Linked DNA regions of Homo sapiens: all the other regions are linked to region 1. The links are contacts of gene promoters, found by promoter capture Hi-C in blood cells and fetal thymus (Javierre and others, 2016). All regions are on one chromosome and are shown on one strand. Each heading gives the region's core, a stretch centred on a gene start or on the middle of the fragment in contact. The rest is flanking DNA. Distances are from core to core; before and after follow the strand shown.

Region 1 (2,700 bases), core at 95-2,594:
AACTACTTGGTTAAGAGTGTTAATTTTATTGAGTAGGAATCAGATAGCGAGATTGATTAATAATAATACTTATCACTCTTTATAACTTGAAAAGCAAGTTCACAAATGTCTCTAAAGTCACAGCCCTGTACTGGAAAGAGAGTTGAACCCTTCTTCAGGAAGACAATAATATAATAATAACAATATTTTCTTCACTCTGCAGTGTCTTTACATTCCAGGGTTGGGAACATTACTGAGGATTCTCTTCCCATTTTCCAGTTTCCTGTTCATTATTCTTATTTTTTTGACTGCTTTTAGCATCGGGAGCACAAAGGCCAGTCACCAGGAATTGCAAACAAATGCGTAGTCAGAGAGAGAGGGCTCACTGCCCATTTGTCATGTGGATGCAGACACATTGCAGATGTGTTCCCAGTAACAATGTCTTGAGAAGAGGACTGGTCTTTCCACCAGCATCTCAGAAATGCCGGTGTGTCTAAACAGCATGTCGTTCTTTAATGCTTTCATGCAATATATTTTATCAATCTCAAGTTCCCCTCACTATGTATTATAATAATTTCTGCTTGTTGGTAACCAATGCAGATGGAAAATTGATTCTTAACAGAAGAGAAAGAGCCAAGTATTGATGCTTACTATTTACACCCTATTGTATCTTTGTAACAAAAACCCGGGTGGCTAAGTTATGATTGGGAACAAGGGAATGGTTCAAGTCTATGCACTAAGGAAAAACAAATCTTTGGCCTAAAACAATAATGATAATAGAATTTAATATAGAGTAGAGACCTGTTTTGTAGAATAACTTTCCTAGTAATCACTGTTGAAAATAATCATACTAGTTCACACCGCGCACTACAGGGATTCCATCGAGGGATTTTCCCATTGAAGGCATTTATTTAGCTAAAAGGACTTCATCTTTAAGGCGGTAATGCAGGACAGATAACAGAGATAAAGATAACAGGAGGTGATCTTTCAGCTCCATAATTACATTCCATATCAGCGACTGTTGCACAGAGAAACTCAAAAGGTAAAAATAAAATATGAAAGGATATTTAAAATCAAAAGGAATTTTATCAAATTAAGAGCATGAGACATTTATCAGTTGAAACAATCTCCAATAATCTTGTGCAATATAATTTTTGTCAAATTTTATTTTGTCATAAACATTTGGGATTTATAATAAAAATGGAAACTTGAAAAATTATATTAGAGATAATATCTGATCATTTCCTCTGGCATCCTGGTGAATATGTGTTTTTTTCCGCAGGAGCACTGAAAATCAGGAACAATCCTGTATTTTTTGTGATAATCAACAAGGACAAAACTTCTCCATATGTAAATAACAGCGTTATGAGCAGCAATTCATCCCTGCTGGTGGCTGTGCAGCTGTGCTACGCGAACGTGAATGGGTCCTGTGTGAAAATCCCCTTCTCGCCGGGATCCCGGGTGATTCTGTACATAGTGTTTGGCTTTGGGGCTGTGCTGGCTGTGTTTGGAAACCTCCTGGTGATGATTTCAATCCTCCATTTCAAGCAGCTGCACTCTCCGACCAATTTTCTCGTTGCCTCTCTGGCCTGCGCTGATTTCTTGGTGGGTGTGACTGTGATGCCCTTCAGCATGGTCAGGACGGTGGAGAGCTGCTGGTATTTTGGGAGGAGTTTTTGTACTTTCCACACCTGCTGTGATGTGGCATTTTGTTACTCTTCTCTCTTTCACTTGTGCTTCATCTCCATCGACAGGTACATTGCGGTTACTGACCCCCTGGTCTATCCTACCAAGTTCACCGTATCTGTGTCAGGAATTTGCATCAGCGTGTCCTGGATCCTGCCCCTCATGTACAGCGGTGCTGTGTTCTACACAGGTGTCTATGACGATGGGCTGGAGGAATTATCTGATGCCCTAAACTGTATAGGAGGTTGTCAGACCGTTGTAAATCAAAACTGGGTGTTGACAGATTTTCTATCCTTCTTTATACCTACCTTTATTATGATAATTCTGTATGGTAACATATTTCTTGTGGCTAGACGACAGGCGAAAAAGATAGAAAATACTGGTAGCAAGACAGAATCATCCTCAGAGAGTTACAAAGCCAGAGTGGCCAGGAGAGAGAGAAAAGCAGCTAAAACCCTGGGGGTCACAGTGGTAGCATTTATGATTTCATGGTTACCATATAGCATTGATTCATTAATTGATGCCTTTATGGGCTTTATAACCCCTGCCTGTATTTATGAGATTTGCTGTTGGTGTGCTTATTATAACTCAGCCATGAATCCTTTGATTTATGCTTTATTTTACCCATGGTTTAGGAAAGCAATAAAAGTTATTGTAACTGGTCAGGTTTTAAAGAACAGTTCAGCAACCATGAATTTGTTTTCTGAACATATATAAGCAGTTGTATAGACGAAGTTCAGGATACCTTTAAAATTACCAAGCGAAATGAGTTTTTAAAAATCAAGTAAGACTATGAATGAATAGCAAATAAATTGCTCTTCAAATGAAAAACAAATCAATGTTTTTCAGTCTTGTTAAGATGTGCACTTTCCTGTCCCTTCTGCAAAAGTATTTACTTGGCTAACAAATGTTAAATTCCTATTTGTTAACTGCTTTAGAGCTCAGCATATCCCACTCCCTGCAGACACTTTTTGTCTTTTAATCCATTGACTCTTCCCTCTGCTCTGGTATTTTTCCTAAAAATATTTGTTTTTT
Region 2 (2,700 bases), core at 148-2,647, 200 kb after region 1:
TTGTTTTTAATTACTCCTTTCATACTTAATATTTCAAATATAGCTGCTTCAGCAGGACAGCTTTTCAGTATCACAGTAAGTACAGCCCAATACAGGATCATCCAAAAACACGTTGACACTTCCAAGACACTGGCACGGGGTCCACGGAGTTTTGCGCGTAAAATTTTAAAAACCCTTCCTACGGTGATGTTTAAGGCCAGGAGCATTCATTTCTCAACCTTGTATCAATCCAGGATCCATCGGACTAGGTTTCATTAGGCAAGAGAGTAGTTCGTTCCTCCTCTGTGCTGAGGATGTTTTGAGATTTAGACCTACATTGAGGGAAAGAAGAGATGAATCTCAATATTTCTCATCTTAAAAACAAACAAACAAACAAAAAACCAGTACCTGTATCTCCATCCAACTATCTTTTTAAAAAAGTTTCTACTGCCCGGGCATGGTGGCTCACGCCTGTAATCCCAGCATTTTGGGAGGCAGAGGCAGGCGGATCACTTGAGGTCAGGAGTTCGAGACCAGCCTGGCCAACATGGTGAAACCCTGTCTCTACTAAAAATACAAAAATTAACTGGGCATGGTGACCCATGCCTGTAATCTCAGCTACGTGGGAGGCTGAGGCAGGAAAACCGCTTGAACCCGGGGGGCAGAAGTTGCAGTGAGCTGAGATTGTGCCACTGCATGCCAGTCTGGGTGACAGAGCAAGACACCATCTCAAAAAATAAAAATTAAAAAAGTATCTACCAACTGATGAGCCTCAGAGTGCTTAGAAATCCACTGACTGGAAGAATAAATGTAAAATGTTATTTATTTTCCACTTGCACTGGCTAACTTTTAAAGAGAGAAAAAAAGCCCCAAAATTGACCATACCTTTTTCTCCTTGAATACTCCAGTAGATAAAACAAGCCCATGGCTAATCCCTTAAACACAATTAAAAGTACTGATTAATGTAAATTTTCCAAGTCAAGTTTTTCCACAAATATAAGGAAAATGCAAATAAAAGACTGATTACTCACACTTATCAGAGCCCATAGACCTTGTATAGCTGCTGCCCATTCAAAACCAATTTTCTCATACAGAAATCCACCCAGCGTTGGTCCCATAAAAGCACTAACAATAGAAAGAAGAAAAAGTATTCAATAGTGCAAAAAATAAATAATTACTTCATGAAAAGCTACATGATCCTTCAATTGTAAGTCTTCATTACATTGGAAGATAAGTACTAAAGATAAAGCTAATTCCTGGGCACAGCATTCAGTAAAAGAAAATAATTCTACCTGATAATGACATTCAAAATTTTTTAACAATTTTGAAATTATTACTGCTTCTGAAAAGTTGATGGCTTATATAAAAATAAAAAATATGAAACAGATTTAAAAAATTCTTTATATTATTCTATTCTCAGTATTTGCAACTAATATAACTCAATTCAAAACAATATATTACATTGTTAGCATAGTTACCCTTCTGGTAGAAGGTAAAAAATAAACAAATGAATGAATAAATGAATAAATTGTAAAAATCAGAGACATGTTTCTATTAAAGGAACTTATAAATACCACTCAAATAAGATAAAGTATATGAAACCATTTTGACTAAGTATTAAACTGTTGGTATAGGCATTGATTGTTGAGTGAAAGGGTATGGATTAGAACTCTGGCTTTCCCCTAGATGAACTGTTTGTCTTTGAGAAACTCATCTGATCCCTCAGTGTTTCAATTTCTTCATCAACATCAAGCAGGGATAGTATTAATATTTTCCATCTTGCAAGTATGAATGAAATTAAATGAGGCTGGGCACAGTGGCTCATGCCTGTAATCCCAGCACTTTGGGAGGCCAAGGCGGGCAGATCACCTGAGGTCAGGAGTTCAAGACCAGCCTGGCCAACACGGTGAAACCCTGTCTCTACTAAAAATACAAAAATTAGCCAGATGTGGTGGTGGGCACCTGTAATCTCAGCTACTCAGGAGGCTGAGATAGAAGAATCTCTTGGACCTGGGAGGCGGAGGTTGCAGTGAGCCAAGATCGCACCATTGCACTCCAGCCTGGGTGATGAGAGTGAAACTCCATCTCAAAAAAAAAAAAAAAGAAAGAAATTAAATGACTACTCACCCAATTGACCACATTGCACTAAAAAGACCTGATACAAGTCCCAATGTACTTAATCCCTCTTCAAACCCATTTTCACTGCAAAAAGAGACATGAGTGTATCCATTATTAAAAGGAAAACCTGTGTGAAAGAAAAAATTGTATGATAGATCAATTAAGATAAACCAAGGATAATCTGGAAAAAAACCAACAGCAAGAATACTCTGCTTCTAAGATAAAAAGCAAATCTTATTTAAAAGAATTTTCATAGTTACATTTACTCCATGGTTTTCTAGAAATAATTTTTCTGCATATATATATGATATTAAGAAGCATGGCTCATTTGCATTAAATACTTATAAAAATATATAATTAAGAAATTCTTAAAATGAGATGAAGATGGAAAGAGAACAAAGGCAACTTTTAAAAAACAGAGATAGTTCCTTATTCCCATGAGAACTATTGAACTGACCCAGCACAGCCATAGTACTTAGTGTTCTTCATCATCATGCCTATTAAACAAAAGAATGATGACCAGGTGACAGATGCTGGTCACTCTAGGCTCTCTCATGGACCTCCTCCATGAAAGAGGAACAATGCTGAGACCTATCTATTTTG
Region 3 (2,700 bases), core at 154-2,653, 230 kb after region 1:
CAGGGAGTACCTCAACTGAAAGACACAAAAGTGAATTAGAAAATTAGGTTATACAGGAACTTTGAAAGAGTGAATTATTTTTCACAGTGGGTAAATGCGGTAGTGTTCGTAATTACTGAAGCCAGACACTATTGAACCGGAAATGAATTAACCTATGTGAAGCACCTGGAGTCGAAAAATATTTGCAAGAATACTAATGAATATCGAGGAAGCATGGCGAAGTGGCTAGGAGTGCGACCTCTGGAGGCAGGTGCCAGGGATTCAAGCCAGGGCACTTGCTGGCAGTGTGTAACTTTGGATGACAAGGTCAGTTTCTCTACCTGTACAACTGAGATTATAATGTTTATCTCGTAGGGCGGCTGTGAGCATTGGCGATAAAGTGTGTTAGTAGTTAGCACATGAACATGATGGCTGCTACCTTACTCTCACACTCACAGTTTTCTTGCATAAAAAATAGGTTTCACTTATTTTCACCGTATTTACTATTTGGGAAGTGTTAAAGCTCGAGGACTGGCTGGACACGGTGGCTCATGCCTGTAATCCCAGCAGTTTGGGAGGCCGAGGTGGGCAGCTCACCTGAGGTCAGGAGTTCTAGACCAGCCCGGCCAACATGGTGAAACCCTGTCTCTACTATAAAAATACAAAAAAATCAGCCAGGCGTGGTGGCAGGCACCTGTAATCCCAGCTACTAGGGAGGCTGAGGCAGGAGAATCGTTTGAACCTGGGAGGCGGAGGTTACAGTGAGCCAAGATCCAAAAGAATTGTGTGAGGGTAGCTTTATCGACTGAGAATCTGCCTCAGATCCACTGTACAAGGTCAGTTCCAGTACACAGTATGGCTGATAGTAAGTTTGTAATTACTGTGCCACCTCATTCCAGCCTGGGTGAAAAAGCGAAACTCTGTCTCAAATAAATAAATAAAGTTTAAGGACTGGGAAATTCTTGTTTTGAAGCCAAAGCAAAACAAAAGACTGAGTTACCACTTTGTGCCAGGCATTATGAATTTAAAGAGGAATGAGCCCCATCCAGACTCTGCCCTCAAGTAGCACACCTTCTAGCAGATGAAATTCACACTAATTAATAATCTACTATAATGCAATCGGTTGTATACAAACATATTGGAAGAACCATTTACTTTGGCAAATGGGTCCTGGATGACTTCCTGAGGAAGTGATGTTACCTTGGTTCTTGAAGGTTATGTAAAAACTCCCCAGTGAGGGCCGGGCGCGGTGGCTCACGCCTGTAATCCCAGCACTTTGGGAGGCCGAGGTGGGCGGGTCACGAGGTCAGAAGTTCGAGACCTGCCTGACCAACACGGTGAAACCCCGTCTCTACAAAAATACAAAAATTAGCTGGGCATGATGGCACCCAGCTACTCAGGAGACTGAGGCAGGAGAATCGCTTGAACCTGGGACTCGGAGGTTGCAGTGAGCAGAGATCATGCCATTGCACTCCAGCCTGGGCAACCGAGCGAGACTCCATCTCAAAAAAAAAAAAAAAAAAATTCCCCAGTGGGCAAGTTGTAAAGGAGAACCTAGAGAACCACTCTGAACAGAAAGTTCCACTCTAAGCCAGGTGCTGTGGCTCACGCCTGTAATCCTAGCACTTTGGGAGGCCGAGGCAGGCAAATCACCTGAGGTCGAGAGTTTGAGACCAGGCTGACCAACATGGAGAAACCCTGTCTCTACTAAAAATACAAAATTAGCTGGGCATGGTGGCGCATGCCTGTAGTCCCAGCTACTCGGGAAGCTGAGGCAGGAGAATCGCTTGAACCTAGGAGGCAGAGGTTGTGGTGAGCCAAGACAGCACCATTGTGCTCCAGCCTGGGCAACAAGAGTGAAACTCCATCTCAAAAAAAAAAAAAAAAAAAAAAAAAGAAAAGAAAAGAAAGTTCCAATCTAGCAAAGTTTCCCTAAAGTAGCCTTATGAAATCTTTATGATCTAACCCCTGACAGCTTCTCCAATCTCATTTAACTCTATGCTTTCTCTTCAATCTAACATCAATCTGTAGAGGGAAATTTTCTTGAATGATTTCTTTGATGATTACATTTCCTCTTTTATTTTCTTTCTGGACTGCACTTTATGTGAATGTTGGGTCACCCAAACTGGTCCTTTTACTTATTTCTCTTTTTCTTCTCTCTTTTATTTTATTTTATTTTTTTTAGACAGGGTCTCACTCTGTTTCCCAAGCTACCATGACATATAATGGCTCACTGCAACCTCAAATTCCTGAGCTCAACTGATCCTCCCACCTCAGCCTCCCGAGTAGGTGGGACTATAGGCCTGTGCCACCACACCTGGCTAGTTATTATTTTTTCTTTTTTTTTCCTCCATGTTATAGGAAGTATCCCTAACTGTATCTTGCCATCTGAATTTTTGCCAACTGAATCTTGCCAACTGTATCTTGCCAATTGAATGTTTCATTTCTGTTGCCATCTATTTCCTTGTATCTCCATTCTCATTCCTCTCCCCATTTGCAATAATTCTTGCATGTTTAATGCAAATCTTGTTCTTTATGTTCTCAAAAAAATCTATGTTCTTATGTGTCCATCTACTTTTAATTTACATAAAGTCTATTCATATCCCTATCCTCCGCTCCTCTTGTAATCTCTACCTCTCATTCTCCCTTCAGATAATCAGTTTTATAATCAAATATATTATTGTGTTAGTTTTCTGGGGCTGCTGTACAAATCAACACAAA

What was found. Contacts are between HindIII fragments. The CHiCAGO score rates a contact against its expected background, and 5 or more counts as called.
Region 2: a fragment that was not itself captured here is called in contact with the fragment with the promoter of TAAR6 in region 1 in 1 of 17 cell types (M1 macrophages); the score reaches 7.2 in M1 macrophages.
Region 3: a contact is called between a fragment that was not itself captured here and the fragment with the promoter of TAAR6 in region 1, in 1 of 17 cell types (monocytes). The highest score is 6.4, in monocytes.

Annotation. Positions count from the first base shown.
Region 1 is chr6:132,568,978-132,571,677 of GRCh38, forward strand. It overlaps TAAR6 (trace amine associated receptor 6), which reads left to right and starts at 1,345. Exons shown (of 1, transcript NM_175067.1): 1 at 1,345-2,382. The coding sequence starts at 1,345. The coding sequence ends at 2,382. The HindIII fragment of the contact is 3,206 bases long and covers 1-2,700 here.
Region 2 is chr6:132,770,026-132,772,725 of GRCh38, forward strand. It overlaps SLC18B1 (solute carrier family 18 member B1), which reads right to left. Exons shown (of 14, transcript NM_052831.3): 11 at 2,107-2,181; 12 at 1,011-1,104; 13 at 865-914; 14 at 1-311. The coding sequence ends at 245. Among named protein-coding and RNA genes, the nearest start is that of VNN2, 13 kb to the left of the region's middle. The HindIII fragment of the contact is 3,459 bases long and covers 1-2,700 here.
Region 3 is chr6:132,798,896-132,801,595 of GRCh38, forward strand. No RefSeq gene overlaps it. Among named protein-coding and RNA genes, the nearest start is that of SLC18B1, 1.6 kb to the left of the region's middle. The HindIII fragment of the contact is 2,853 bases long and covers 1-2,700 here.